4 separate regions of the Homo sapiens genome follow, and regions 1, 3 and 4 are each linked to region 2. The links are contacts of gene promoters, found by promoter capture Hi-C in blood cells and fetal thymus (Javierre and others, 2016). All regions are on one chromosome and are shown on one strand. The core of a region is centred on a gene start or on the middle of the fragment in contact, and the rest is flanking DNA. Distances in the headings are between cores, read along the strand shown.

What was found. The method cuts DNA at HindIII sites, captures the fragments that hold promoters and counts their contacts. A CHiCAGO score of 5 or more calls a contact.
Region 1: a fragment that was not itself captured here is called in contact with the fragment with the promoter of ERICH6-AS1 in region 2 in 2 of 17 cell types (erythroblasts and megakaryocytes); the score reaches 6.2 in erythroblasts.
Region 3: a contact is called between a fragment that was not itself captured here and the fragment with the promoter of ERICH6-AS1 in region 2, in 9 of 17 cell types (activated CD4 T cells, fetal thymus, erythroblasts and 6 more). The highest score is 8.8, in activated CD4 T cells.
Region 4: a fragment that was not itself captured here is called in contact with the fragment with the promoter of ERICH6-AS1 in region 2 in 2 of 17 cell types (erythroblasts and megakaryocytes); the score reaches 6.7 in erythroblasts.

Annotation. Positions count from the first base shown.
Region 1 is chr3:150,560,066-150,563,346 of GRCh38, forward strand. EIF2A (eukaryotic translation initiation factor 2A) reads left to right here. Exons shown (of 14, transcript NM_032025.5): 4 at 2,477-2,595. Among named protein-coding and RNA genes, the nearest start is that of EIF2A, 15 kb to the left of the region's middle. The HindIII fragment of the contact is 2,605 bases long and covers 729-3,281 here.
Region 2 is chr3:150,702,120-150,705,348 of GRCh38, forward strand. ERICH6-AS1 (ERICH6 antisense RNA 1) reads left to right here and starts at 1,445. Exons shown (of 3, transcript NR_121675.1): 1 at 1,445-1,548. It overlaps ERICH6 (glutamate rich 6), which reads right to left and starts at 1,801. Exons shown (of 14, transcript NM_152394.5): 1 at 1,377-1,801; 2 at 2-59. The coding sequence starts at 1,779. RefSeq lists enhancers at 1,677-1,756, 1,907-1,996. The HindIII fragment of the contact is 4,487 bases long and covers 1-3,229 here.
Region 3 is chr3:150,867,122-150,870,268 of GRCh38, forward strand. No RefSeq gene overlaps it. Among named protein-coding and RNA genes, the nearest start is that of MINDY4B, 37 kb to the right of the region's middle. The HindIII fragment of the contact is 8,369 bases long and covers 1-3,147 here.
Region 4 is chr3:150,847,385-150,850,443 of GRCh38, forward strand. No RefSeq gene overlaps it. Among named protein-coding and RNA genes, the nearest start is that of MINDY4B, 57 kb to the right of the region's middle. RefSeq lists an enhancer at 1,489-1,990. The HindIII fragment of the contact is 1,853 bases long and covers 807-2,659 here.

The DNA.
Region 1 (3,281 bases), core at 781-3,280, 140 kb before region 2:
ATTCCTTGTTCTTCTAGCTTAGAGTTTGTTGAATAAGTCTGTTTTTACCTTGGCAGTTATTGTTAATAGTTCACTCATATCCACACTTAACCTTCTATGGGATTCAACTCTGAATCTTTTTAGTATGTCCCCATATGTCATGTCCATGATTTTAATAGATATCTTCTATATTAAGTTCTAGCATTTATTTCATTAAAGTGCTGTGACCACAATGGTACTTATTGTTCTGGGGCAAGAGAACTAGATTTCATGTATTGATTGTGGTCTTTGTTCAGTTTCTGGTTAACTAAGTCAGAAACCGTTACTGATTCTTCCTTAAATATGTTTTTTCTTAATTAAAATAAACATCCTTCATTAAACTAAGAATAACTCTTAAAGACCATCAATTCTGAGTAGGCTCCAGTTGCAAAGCAAAGAAAAAAATAAAGGTTAACAACAGCAACAAGAAGAAAACAAGAAAGCGTCTTGTAATTCTAAAATAGGTTATTTGCAGCAAGTTGTAAAGATTTCCATGTTAGGTGTGTGTGTTTAAATACTATGTGGTAATTTTTCATTCTTTTCAGTGACTGCTTATCTTAACCTCAGTTATCTTCCTCAAACCTGAGTAGAACAAAGTTACTTACAGCAACTTCTGGAATAAGATGGAGAGTCTTTTTTTTTTTTTTTTTTTTGTTAAACACCCCAGAGTGTTTAGTACATAACAGTAAGTCAGGCCAAACTGATTTCAAAGCTTGGCTGTGGCATTTATCAATAGTATGATCTTGAGCAAATCGTCAAATCATTTTATTTTTCTAAGCCTAAATTTCAGCACTTGTAAAACAGAAATGATGACATTTGTAAGATTGTTGTAAGGATTAAATGAGAAAATGTACATAAAGTGGTTAGGTACATAGAAAACATCCCAAAATGGAACTGCTTTTATCATACAATTATTGTCATTTTTGTCATTGTACCATAATAATTCTTAGAATCATATCTTTTAGAGATTGCTCTTGAGATTGTAGTAGACATCAAATGTCTCCTTACTGATTTCCCTAGCTGCTATAGCTTCTATTTATTTAAAAAAAATTTTTTTTTTAATTGAGATGGGATCTTGCTATGTTGCCCGGGCTGGTTTTGAACTCCTGGGCTCAAGCAGTCCTCCCACCTCAGCCTCCCAACATGCTGGGATTACAGGTGTGAGCCACTGCACCTGGCCCATTTATTCAAATTTAAAAGTATACTTTTGCGGGCCGGACACGGTGGCTCATACCTGTAATCCCAGCACTTTGGAAGGCCAGGGTGGGTGGATCACCTGAGGTCAGGAGTTCAAGGCCAGCCTGGCCAACATGGTGAAACCCCGTCTCTACCAAAAATACAAAAATTAGCCAGGCGTGGTGGCATGCGCCTGTAGTCCCAGCTACTCGGGAGGCTTAGGCAGGAGAATCACTTAAACCCAGGAGGTGGAGGTTGCTGTGAGCCAAGACTGTGCCACTACACTCCAGCCTGGGTGACAGAGTGAGACTCCATCTCAAATAAAAAATAAAACAAAAGTATACTTTTGCCATTTTCTCTAGCACCTCTGCCTTTCCTTTGGTTTGATAGACCTCAGCTTCTCTATAGATTAGTTTTGTGTTCACTTAAAGGCATTTTTTTCCTTTTCAGCTGAAGGTGGAATCATCCATGTGTCTTCTATTTTATATCATTTCCCAGCACTAGCCTTATATAGGAGCCTTTTGGTAAAATATACATTTTTTTTTTTTTGAGATGGAGTCTCACTCTGTCACCCAGCCTGGAGTGCAGTGGCACGATCTCAGCCCACTGCAGCCTCTGCCTCCCGAGTAGCTGGGATTACAGGTGCCCACTGCCACGCCCGGCTAATTTTTGTAGTGTTAGTAGAGACAGAGGTTCTCCATGTTGGCCAGGCTGGTCTCGAACTCCCGACCTCAGGTGATCCACCCACCTCGACCTCCCAAAGTGCTGGGATTACAGGTGTGAGCGACTGCACCTGGCCCTTTTTTTTTGAAGTTAAGGTATTTCCCGCATATTTTCTAGAACCAACTTAAAGTTGATTTTTATGAAAAATGAACATTTTGGGCTGGGCATGGTGGCTCACGCCTGTAATCCCAGCACTTTGGGAGGCCAAGGCGGGCGGATCACGAGGTCAGGAGATCAAGACCATCCTGGCTAACACGGTGAAACCCCATCTCTACTAAAAATACAAAAAATTAGCCGGGCGTGGTGGCGGGCACCTGTAGTCCCAGCTACTTGGGAGGCTGAGGCAGGAGAATGGCATGAACCGGGGAGGTGGAGCTTGCAGTGAGCCGAGATTGCGCCACTGCACTCCAACCTGGGAGACAGCGAGACTCCATCTCAAAAAAAAAAAAAGTCAACATTTTGGAGTGATCTGTATTTGAAAAGAGGTATGAATGTTTTGGTTAGTGTTGACTACTATAAAACAGTATTTCATTGCTGAAATAATTTCTTTTGAAACCAGAGTAAATATTATCAGTGTCACTAACAAGGGACTACTGCACTCCTTCGACCTCCTGAAGGCAGTTTGCCTTGAATTCTCACCCAAAAATACTGTCCTGGCAACGTGGCAGCCTTACACTAGTAAGTATTTTCTCAGTGTAAAAATACTCTGACACGATCAATTACGTTTAGTGGGGGGGAAAAAGTTATAAAGTTTATAACCTCATAAGAAAGTAATTAGTCTTTATGATAGTAAATAGTGTTTGTGAATATTTATGATCTACAGTGAATCTTGTACTCTCCAAATAAACAATGTATTGAAAGTAATTTCAAGGTATATGGTAAGTTAATGTAAAGAGCCATTATGAGCTAAAGGAAAAGAAAAAGCTCAAGGGAAAATTCAGGAAGTAAATAACTGCTGGATAGAGATTTCTGAAGATTAAGAATAATAATGACTTTTAAAATCAAGACTTTTAAATAATTATTATGTGAAAGGAAGTACAGTAGACAAAACATCTAAGGGATGTGTATGGTAGAGTCGAAAATGTTGTGCCATTTTCCAAAATATTTAAAGAGATACTTAATGATAATACATTATATGAACATTTCATATAACTGTGTTTCATGTAATAAAATAGTTATAGGGGCTTATTTTAAGAAACATTTTCTAATAATGTTGATATTTTTGAATAAGTAAATGATAATAGGTCATTATTGGCTTACAAACCTCCTGAGTTTTTGTTCTTTCAAGAGGTATGAACTCTCATGAATCTAATTTTTCCAAGTAAATGAAAGAGATACTGAGAATCAGTTGAGAATCATGAGTG
Region 2 (3,229 bases), core at 195-2,694:
CCTATCTATACTCATTTCAGACATGTCTTTCCTAAATGTCTGAAATATTTTAGGGAAACCTGTTGAATGAAACATTTAAAAATCAGCTATTCCCTCTAAATCAAAAGGTCAATTCTACCCCCCCCAGGAACACATGGCAATGTCTGGAGACTTTTTTTTTTTTTTTTTTTTTTTTGAGACGGAGTCTCGCTCTGTCGCCTAGGCTGGAGTGCAATGGCGCGATCTTGGCTCACTGCAAGCTCCACCTCCCGGGTTCACGCTATTCTCCTGCCTCAGCCTCCCAAGTAGCTGGGACTACAGGCGCACGCCGCCACGCCCGGCTAATTTTTTGTATTTTTAGTAGAGACGGGGTTTCACCATGTTAGCCAGAATGGTCTCGATCTCCCGACCTCGTGATCTGCCCGCCTAGGCCTCCCAAAGTGCTGGGATCACAGGCGTGAGCCACCGCGCCCGGCCTGGAGACATTTTTGATCATCGCAAGGATGTGTGCTTCTAGCACAGCCACGGGTAGAGGACAGGGATGCTGCCAAATATCCTGTAATTCACAGGACAGTCCCCAATCCTCCCCAACAAAGAATTATCCAGACCAAAATGTCAACACTAGAGCTTGAGAAGCCTACTCTAGAAGACTTCTCTGCTTCTTTTTTCAAGGAAGTGACTGGAGTGGCTTCAGCACAGGATGTTAAACACAAAAGAGAGTTGTTTTTTTTTTTTGCAGGACTGTTTCAGTAGTACAGCACCCTTAAGGCACTTCTCTGGAAATAATATGAGTGTGTGTGTGTGTGTGTGTGTGTGTCTGTGAGAGAGAGAGAGAGGGAGAGAGAAAGAGAGGGGGAGGGGAGAGGGAGGGGAGGAAGAGGGAGGGGAGGGGGAACAGAGAGAGAGAGAGAGAGAGATGTCACGGTGTGAATGCACGCAAAAATGTTATAAAAATGAGCACTCCCAGCAGCCTGGGCAACATAGTGAGACGCCAGATTAGCTGGGTGTGGTGGCGTGTGCCTGTAGTTCCAGTTACTCGAGAGGCTGCGGTGGGAGGCTTGAGCCCAGGAGGTCGAGGCTGCAGCCACTGCACTCCAGCCTGGGCGACAGAGCGAGACTCTTGTCTAAAAAAAAAAAAGCACTTCATACAGCCATGCCCAAGTTCAACTTTTATGGTGTTTCGCCTATATCCTAAATCGTGCCTCATCACAACAGCTCAGCCAAGGGTTCAGTGTCTCTGACAAGGGCGTGAGAGAGATTAGGTGTGTGGAATGGTGCATGCATTTAGAAATCAGGCACGACGCGCAGGTCGACGAAGGCACCACCCAGGAGTGGGTGGACCAGGTGCCCCCTGGAGACGAGAAACCCTCGAGGAAGGGGTGGGTCGGGGGCGGTACTTTTATGCGAGGAGGTGCTGGAGGGTGGGCTTGCGCTCGGCGTTTCAGTGCTGGTCGCGCTCTGGCTGGGCACGAACGTAGAGGTCAGGCTAGGGCTGACGATGCTGGCTAAGCGGGGGCGCACGTCTGGGAAGTCGTCGTCGTAGTCACCGATGTCCGTGACCTTCCAGAGGTACTCTTCGCTGAACGTCTCAGGGGCCTCCAACTCCTGCTCTTCCCCCACCAACTCCTCCTCCACCACCTCCTCCTCCTCCTCCTCCACCTCTTCCTCCTCCTCCTCCACCTCTTCCTCCTCCTCCTCCACCTCTTCCTCCTCCTCCTCCTCCTCTAACTCCTCCTCTGACTCCTTCTGGTCCTTCTTCCCCGGGTCTCCGAAGCCGCTAGGCGAGCGCAAGTGGGCCATGGCTGGCGGGAGGCGGGATTACAGCCAGCTCTTTGGCCGCGGCCCCGGTCGGCTCTCGCGAGCGCGAGCCTCTGTTGTGCGTTGGTCTCCCCGGGCAACTGCTTGCCCTGCGCCACCGAGCCTCCCGGATTTAAAGCGGCAGGAGCTGGTTAGCCGGATAGAATGTGGGTGCCGAGGGCCGGTGGGGGCCACCGCAGACTTCTTTCTGTCCCTGCTCTTCAGCGTCTCTGAAACCCCTGGCAGCCTGCGGAGAAACGATCTTTTCTTCGTCTCTCAGCTTATTTGGGGCCTTTTTTTTTTTTTTTAACTTGGGTGGAGGAAGTGGCTTCTAGCGACGGACACACACGGTGCCATTTGGTATTGCGGATGCTGGAGTCTGGTTATTGAGTAGACAGATGCTTGCTGGAACGTCCAGTGAAACTTTATTTACAAAATCAGGCGCCAGCCCTTGGGCCCTCGTTTGCGGATATTTTTAAAATAGCTTTAAATATTAATAAGCGTATTAAAATTGCCTTAAATGTTAGTTATCTTAAATATTGTTAGATTAATATTAATTAATCTTGATTGGCGACATTTTTAGCGTCCCATAAATTTTGCTCCTTGCTGTGATCTGGGTCCTGCTTCTTACTTGGCCCATCTATCCATCCTGGAGTAGAAAAGTCCTGAAGCATCTGGCCACCTAGGTACCACCTGCGTCCTTCTGGGACTTTGTATTTACTTACATTTTTGTAAAATATATACATTTTTTATTTTTGAGAGACAGGATGTCACTCTGTCACCCAGGCTGGAGTGCAGTGGCGGCATCATGGTTCACTTCAGCCCTGAACTCTTGGGCTCCAGTGATCCTCCCACCTCGGTCTCCCAAGTGGCAAGGACAACAAATGTGTGTCACCACGCCTGGCCAATTTTATATATTATATTATATTATATTATATTATATTATATTATATTATATTATATTATATTTATTTTGAGACGGAGTCTCGCTCTGTCACCCAGGCTGGAGTGCAGTGGCACCATATCGGCTCCCTGCAACCTCAGCCTCCTGGGTTCAAGCAATTCTCCTGCCTCAGCCTCCCGAGTAGCTGGGACTACAGGCACGTGCCACCACGCCTGGCTAATTTTTTGCATTTTCAGTAGAGATGGGGTTTCACCGTGTTAGCCAGGATGGTCTCGATCTCCTGACCTCGTGATCTGCCTGCCTCAGCCTCCCAAAGTGCTGGGATTACAGGCGTGAGCCACAGTGCCTGGCCTGTATTATATTTATTTTGAGACAGGGTCTTACCCTGTCGCTCAGGCTGGAGTGCAGTGGTGCTATCTCAGCTCACCGCAACCTCCTCCTCCCGGCTCAAGCTGATCCTCCCGCCTCAGCCTCCCGAGTATCTGGGACTACTTTTTGTAGAGATGGCGTCTTGCTATGTTGCCCAGGCTGGTCTCAAACTCTCGGTCT
Region 3 (3,147 bases), core at 648-3,147, 170 kb after region 2:
TTTCCACTTGAATGTTTCATGTCTAAGACTAGATGTGTGATTTCTTGCCCTCAAAATCTGGTATGTTTTGAGTGTTTCCAAGTTCTGTGAAGGTACAACCTTCCATCCAGTTATCAAATCAGAAACCTAGAAGTCATCCTTGATCCTTCTTTCTTTCTTCCTCATCTCCCTCCCCATGCAACCTATTTCAGCCTTCTCCATTTTACCTACCAAGAGGTGTCTCCTGAGAGGCCCACTTCAGTCTACTTTAATTGCCTCCATTCTGTTCTGACCATCTCTTGTCCACACCACTGCCTAACTAACTAGTCTCCGCATGCCTAACTGGTCTCTGCATGCACTTGGGGCTCTCTCCAATCCATGTTCTACTCTGAGGCATGTGTTCAAAATGCAAATCTTACCAGGCCACTTAAAACCTTTCCAAGGTTTCTCACACCTTATAGTCTACACTGCCTTGCGGTGGCCCCACCTTTTGCTCCAGCTGCTTCACAACCACTCTTTAGCCCCACAGGCTTTTCTGTTCCTCAGGCGCATTCACCACAGGGCTTCACATCTGCTTGCCCTTCTTCCCCTTACCCTGTTATCTCTATGCAGCCTTCTTACTTCAGCTAACCATCTCTTCCTCAGACATGCCTTTTCCTTTTCTTTCAGTTCTTTATTATAAGATTGACGCACCCAAAATCTCTTCCCTTAGTTTTCAAGTTTATCTTTATTAAAGTGCTTTTTGATTAATTGCCATCTCCTCAGAAGAGCCTAAGTTTCATAAGAAAAGAGGGTGTGCCACATCTGATTTTGCTCGCTGTGCTGATTTTCCCCAGCATCAAGCATAGTGCCTGGCACATAGGGCATGTTAAAAAACATTGAATGGCCAGGCATGGTAGCTCATGCCTGAATCCCAGCACTTCGGGAGGCCAAGCGGGCAGATCACTTGAGGTCATGAGTTAAAGACCAGCCTGGCCAACATGGTGAAACCCAATTTCTACCAAAAAATACAAACAAATTAGCCAGAGTGGTTGTGTGCACCTGTAGTCCCAGCTACTTGGGAGGCTGAGGCACAAGAATCGCTTGAACCCGGGAGGTGGAGGTTACAGTGAGCCAAGGTCACACCAGTGCACTCCAGCCTGGGCGACAGAGTGAGACTCCATCTCAAAAATAAAAATAAAAATAAAATAAAAAACATTGAATGAATGAATGAATGAATGATTATGTCTCTAAGGCCCTGACAAGGGAATTACAACCATTAACAGAAAATGCAGGCCCAGGTGTGGCTGAAGAGTGCCCACAGCCTGGACAGCTCAGGTCCAGTCTCAGCCAGTTGCTATTCAGGGTTATTTCCACAGTGTGAAGTGAAGGGAATCTTAGGCCTCCCCCAACCTGGCCTGCTCCTACGGGTCTTGTGACATTGGTGAGAATGTTCTTGGAAAAATGATTCACACATCTTGTCTAAGAGCAAACAATAATTCGGGGGAATGTTCCAGTCTAAGTTGATATTTGAAAGAGGAAAATAGTTGCCATCGCCTCAAGGGTTCATTCCCACTAAAGACACAGTCAGTTTAGATGACTAGTCAGAAAAATTAATATCCCCGTCTTCAAGCAAACAGCTTTCTTCTGCTTTGTATTTGAGAAGCTGAAAAAAAAGTCATTTTTCTCAAAACAAAGTTTAAAAGTGAACTAATGGCTCTGAGAAACTTCCAGTTATTTTTATTTTTTTATTTTATTTTATTTTATTTTTTTTGAGACGGAGTCTCGCTGTCGCCCAGGTTGGAGTGCAGTGGCGTGATCTCGGCTCACTGCAGGCTCCGCCTCCTGGGTTCACGCCATTCTCCTGCCTCAGCCTTTTGAGTAACTGGGACTACAGGTGCCCGCCACCTCGCCTGGCTAATTTTTTGTATTTTTAGTAGAGATGGGGTTTCACCGTGTTAGCCAGGATGGTCTCGATCTCCTGACCTCGTGATCCGCCCACCTCGGCCTTCCAAAGTGCTGGGATTACAGGCGTGAGCCACCGCGCCCAGCCACTTCCAGTTATTTTTAAATAACATGTCTCCACTCTGAAGAAAAAAATCAAGTATTACCGGGTACCCTGTTTATAAGATAAAATAACTTATTTTCACTGAACATTGATATACAAAGTAATTAATAGTTTTATATATCAAAATTATACTTTTACATCTAAAACGTAGGTACTTAATCTTTCCTCCATTATTTTACTTATTTATAGACTTGTTCCAGGAATAATTTAACCCAAATTACAATACCATATAAAATATGGCAAACTAACATAAATTATAAACAAATTAAAAATTCAAAGGAGGAATAAGGGAAGGAACATAAAATGGATACAAGAATGAGGTCAATTTAAAAGTTGGCTTTTGTAAGGACCGATACACTACCCGACAGTCATCCTGCTTTTCTTCCTTCTACAAAACCCTGATTTTGTTCTAATATCAAGTGCCCTGTTCTCAGACTCAGAGGATGAACCATGATGATCTGAGTCATGGATCCCCTAGCTAGACAGCTCTTGTTAAAAGGAATATCTTTATTGTTTGCGACTTTTCGTGAGATCTCTTACTTGCAGCTGAGCAGTTCCTTACTAATGCACTGGTGTGTTTTTTAATTCAGCTCTAAGCAGTCAACTCCAAAAGAGACATTCAGTAAGAAACAATGTAGTGTCCATAAAACAAAAAACAGGCCCGCACCTCAGGAAAAGCACAATGTAAGTAAGATTAAGACCACATAAGCCCAAAGTCTGTAGGGATCCACTTATTTGTCCAGTGTATTTAAAATCCCCAGTGAAAACACCAATGATAAAGATACTATAATCCGCAATTCAAGCCTAATTGCCTTTCTCTTCTGACATAATTTATTATTCACCTTGAAGTTTCATTTCCTACATGGTCCTTAAGTTAAAACATTATTCTTTGAGCCAAATGCAAATGCATTTAATAAATGAATTTGAATGAATGCAGAAAGATTGTTCTTTGGAAACTAACCTTGGGATTGTGAATACAGTGCCCTAAGTCTGTGAGGTGGCAGATTAGCGGGGTGGCTGGCGGTGTCTACATTATTCTCGTGTACTTCTTTTAGAAGGAATATGTGTTTACTCTGTGTATCTCTTCAGAAAGAACATAGGCATTTAACAGGACAGGGAAA
Region 4 (3,059 bases), core at 483-2,982, 150 kb after region 2:
AATTTTAATCATTTTATCTTTTCCATGATAAGTCATGGTGTGCAGAACTTTTAATGGGAGCTTGAAAGACTCAGGAAGGATAGGTGACCGTCTATGCTCTCCATGAGTTCATGTTTAACATTGCATTTACATTCTTCAAAATGTCAATTTTTTTTCTCCAATTCAGGTGCATAGCCCTGTTTATTAGATAGATTATCATATATAAGTTGAATTGGATTAACCTTACAAAGTTCATTCAAATTGCTGATGTCAGCAATTTCAGTACTGGCTGACTTAACCTAAAAATCTGCAAAGTGGCCATCAAAGATTTTAAAGGCAAATATAGAAGTTTACATCATTTTGGACAAAAAACTTAGCTCTTTTAATATTGAGAAGACTCAATTTTCTTAAGTAATCAAAGATCTAATAGAAGACAACATGAAGAACAGGAAATTATTTTAATAAAACACCCTACTTTTGTTTCACAGGCCAATTATCTAAAATACCTTTTACAACTTCCTATTAAAAGAAGAGGCTTACTCCAAGGAAATCCTGTTTCAATGGAGAGGACCAGATTCTACTTTTGCATCAGTGTACTTTTGATATTAATGCTCCATTTTTAAAAAAAAACTTATAATTCCCTTCTAATTTTAGCCACCCTGATCACACATAAAATTTATTTCCTAAGATTCATAAACTTTCTACATTTTATATCCTTTAAGTCATTTGTCCTATAGTTTTCTTCTTTCTTATTTTGGGACAATCAATCATTCTACTTTAGGAAAAAATTACTTTTTTTAAAAAAACAAAAACATACTTTTCATCTAAGCTTCACTTACAAAAACATGTCTTACTTTTTTTGTTTCTCTTATTTCTAATTTTAATTGCCATATATTAATTCGACTTTTTAAGTATTAGTAACCCCAATTTCTAGTGAAAACCTAGGAAGTGAGCAATTTTGAACTGTTTTGTATCAGCATTTAAAATAATTTTTAGAAACATTTTCTCAAAACACAATTTTTGTTTATTAACAGACCCACATATTAGCTTCTCTAGACTGTATAAAAACATGCCAAAGTTTGTAAAATTAAACTTTTGCTTAAAAATTAAAGTTTTAGCATTTTAACCTACTTAGAAATAACCCAGACATTTTATGAATCTCTCTTAATTTATTATGACTTTAAGACTTCACTGAAAAAGAATTTTGAAACTATGACAGGTTCACCTAAACAACTTTTATCCCATTCCATCAGGGGGTTATATCAAGGGACCTTTGGCCTTTTCTTTACTGACCTGTTTGATCATTACCCTAAGTAATTGTTAGCTAGGTTGTTCATTGTAATTTCTGCCTTCTGACTTTAAAAAATTTCTCCAAACTGGGGTAAAAAGAGTGAATTGATTTGGGATCTTGTAATGTTGGCAGACCGGCAGGTGTTCCTCTGTTTTGTCTAATCTTTGGTAGATTTACCTTTTGTTTTAACCCCATCACTATTTGCTTTACTTACCCCGTTTTTAATAACTATTAAAATTTTTTTAAATTAATTATTTTAAAAATAGAGACAAGGTCTTGCTATGTTGCCCAGGCTGGTCTTGAACTCCTGGGTTCAAACAATCCATCTGCCCTGGCCTCCCAAAGTGCTGGGATTCCAGACATCAGCCACTGTGCTGGGGCAACTATTAAAAAGTTTTAACCCAAATTTGCATTTCCAAAGGAATGGCTTAGTAAATAAGGTAGAAAATTTCCATCTCAAAAGCACAGAGCTGAGACTTTAGGTCTAAATACCATTATTTGCCCAAATCAAGGAAGGAGGATATAGATAAAGGCCCAGTTAAGACATAATGGCCAAGAATAAACACCTTAAACAGGTAAGGCTTGCTATACAGTTTGGGTTGTAACAGCATTCCCTGCCTGATATTTTCCTTCTGAGTATTTGGAATAAGGCCCATCCACAGAAAGTATTTATTCAGGATTATCCAGTGGAGTATCTTGTAAATCAACACGAGGGGCCACTGATTCTAATATTACATGTACATAGTTATAGTCTTCACTGTCAGACAGTAGAAGTAGTGGAGTCTCAAGGTTAAGTAAGTTGCAGTGTTTTATTTATTTTATTTTTAAGATAGGGTCTCACTCACCCAGGCTGGAGTGCAATGGCATGATCATACTCACTGCAGTCTTGAACTCCGTGGCTCAAGTGATCCTCCCACCTTAGCCTTCCGAATAGCTTGGACTACAGGCATGTGCCATCATGCCTGCTAATTATTTTTTTTTTTTTGGTAGAGACAGCATCTTGCTATGTTGCTCAGGCTGGTCTCGAACTCCCACCTTAGCCTCCCAACACATTGGGATTACAGGTGTGAACCATCATGCCCAGACTGCAGTGTTTTAGGTGGGGTTTGGAAGAAGACAAAAGAATTTAATAAGATGTTAGTCTACTTACTGACAGATGTTAAGTTTGACTAAAATTTAATGGGCTTTCCACAGCACGTGGAACTTGCAAGAAAAGTCTATTCTCTACTAACTTCCCCTTTTTCTATTATCCCCAGAATGAAACGGTAATTGAACAAGAAGGTTAATGGACTCAGAGTATTGAAGTAAAGATAGATGGAGAGAAAAAGCAGCAAGGGTTAGTTCAATGAGGGTATCGTCCTTTTTCGTTACATTCTTAGTTGTTGTTTAAGCTTTGTATATATGCCTTTTGCAAATTTTTTTAGGGAAGCAAATGTTGATTTATTTAATCTTTTAGATGCCTCTGCATACTGGTTAAAAAATGTATCTCCTTGTTTTTACACAGTTTTTGATTCCTTCTTTTCTAATGTCTCTTGCAAATAAACAACTGTATCCAAATTAAAACTTTCCCACTGTGGCCCAATATGGTCTGGCTCTGTGTCCCCACCCAAATCTCATCTTGACTTGTAATCCAAATTGTAATCCCCACATGTTGGGAGAGGGACCTTCTGGGAGGTGATTAGATCATGGGGGTGTTTCCCCCATGCTTTTCTCATGATAGTGAGTTTGTTATTATGAGATCTGATGATTTTCCAAGGGGCTTTCCCCCATTCACTTTGCACTTCTCCTT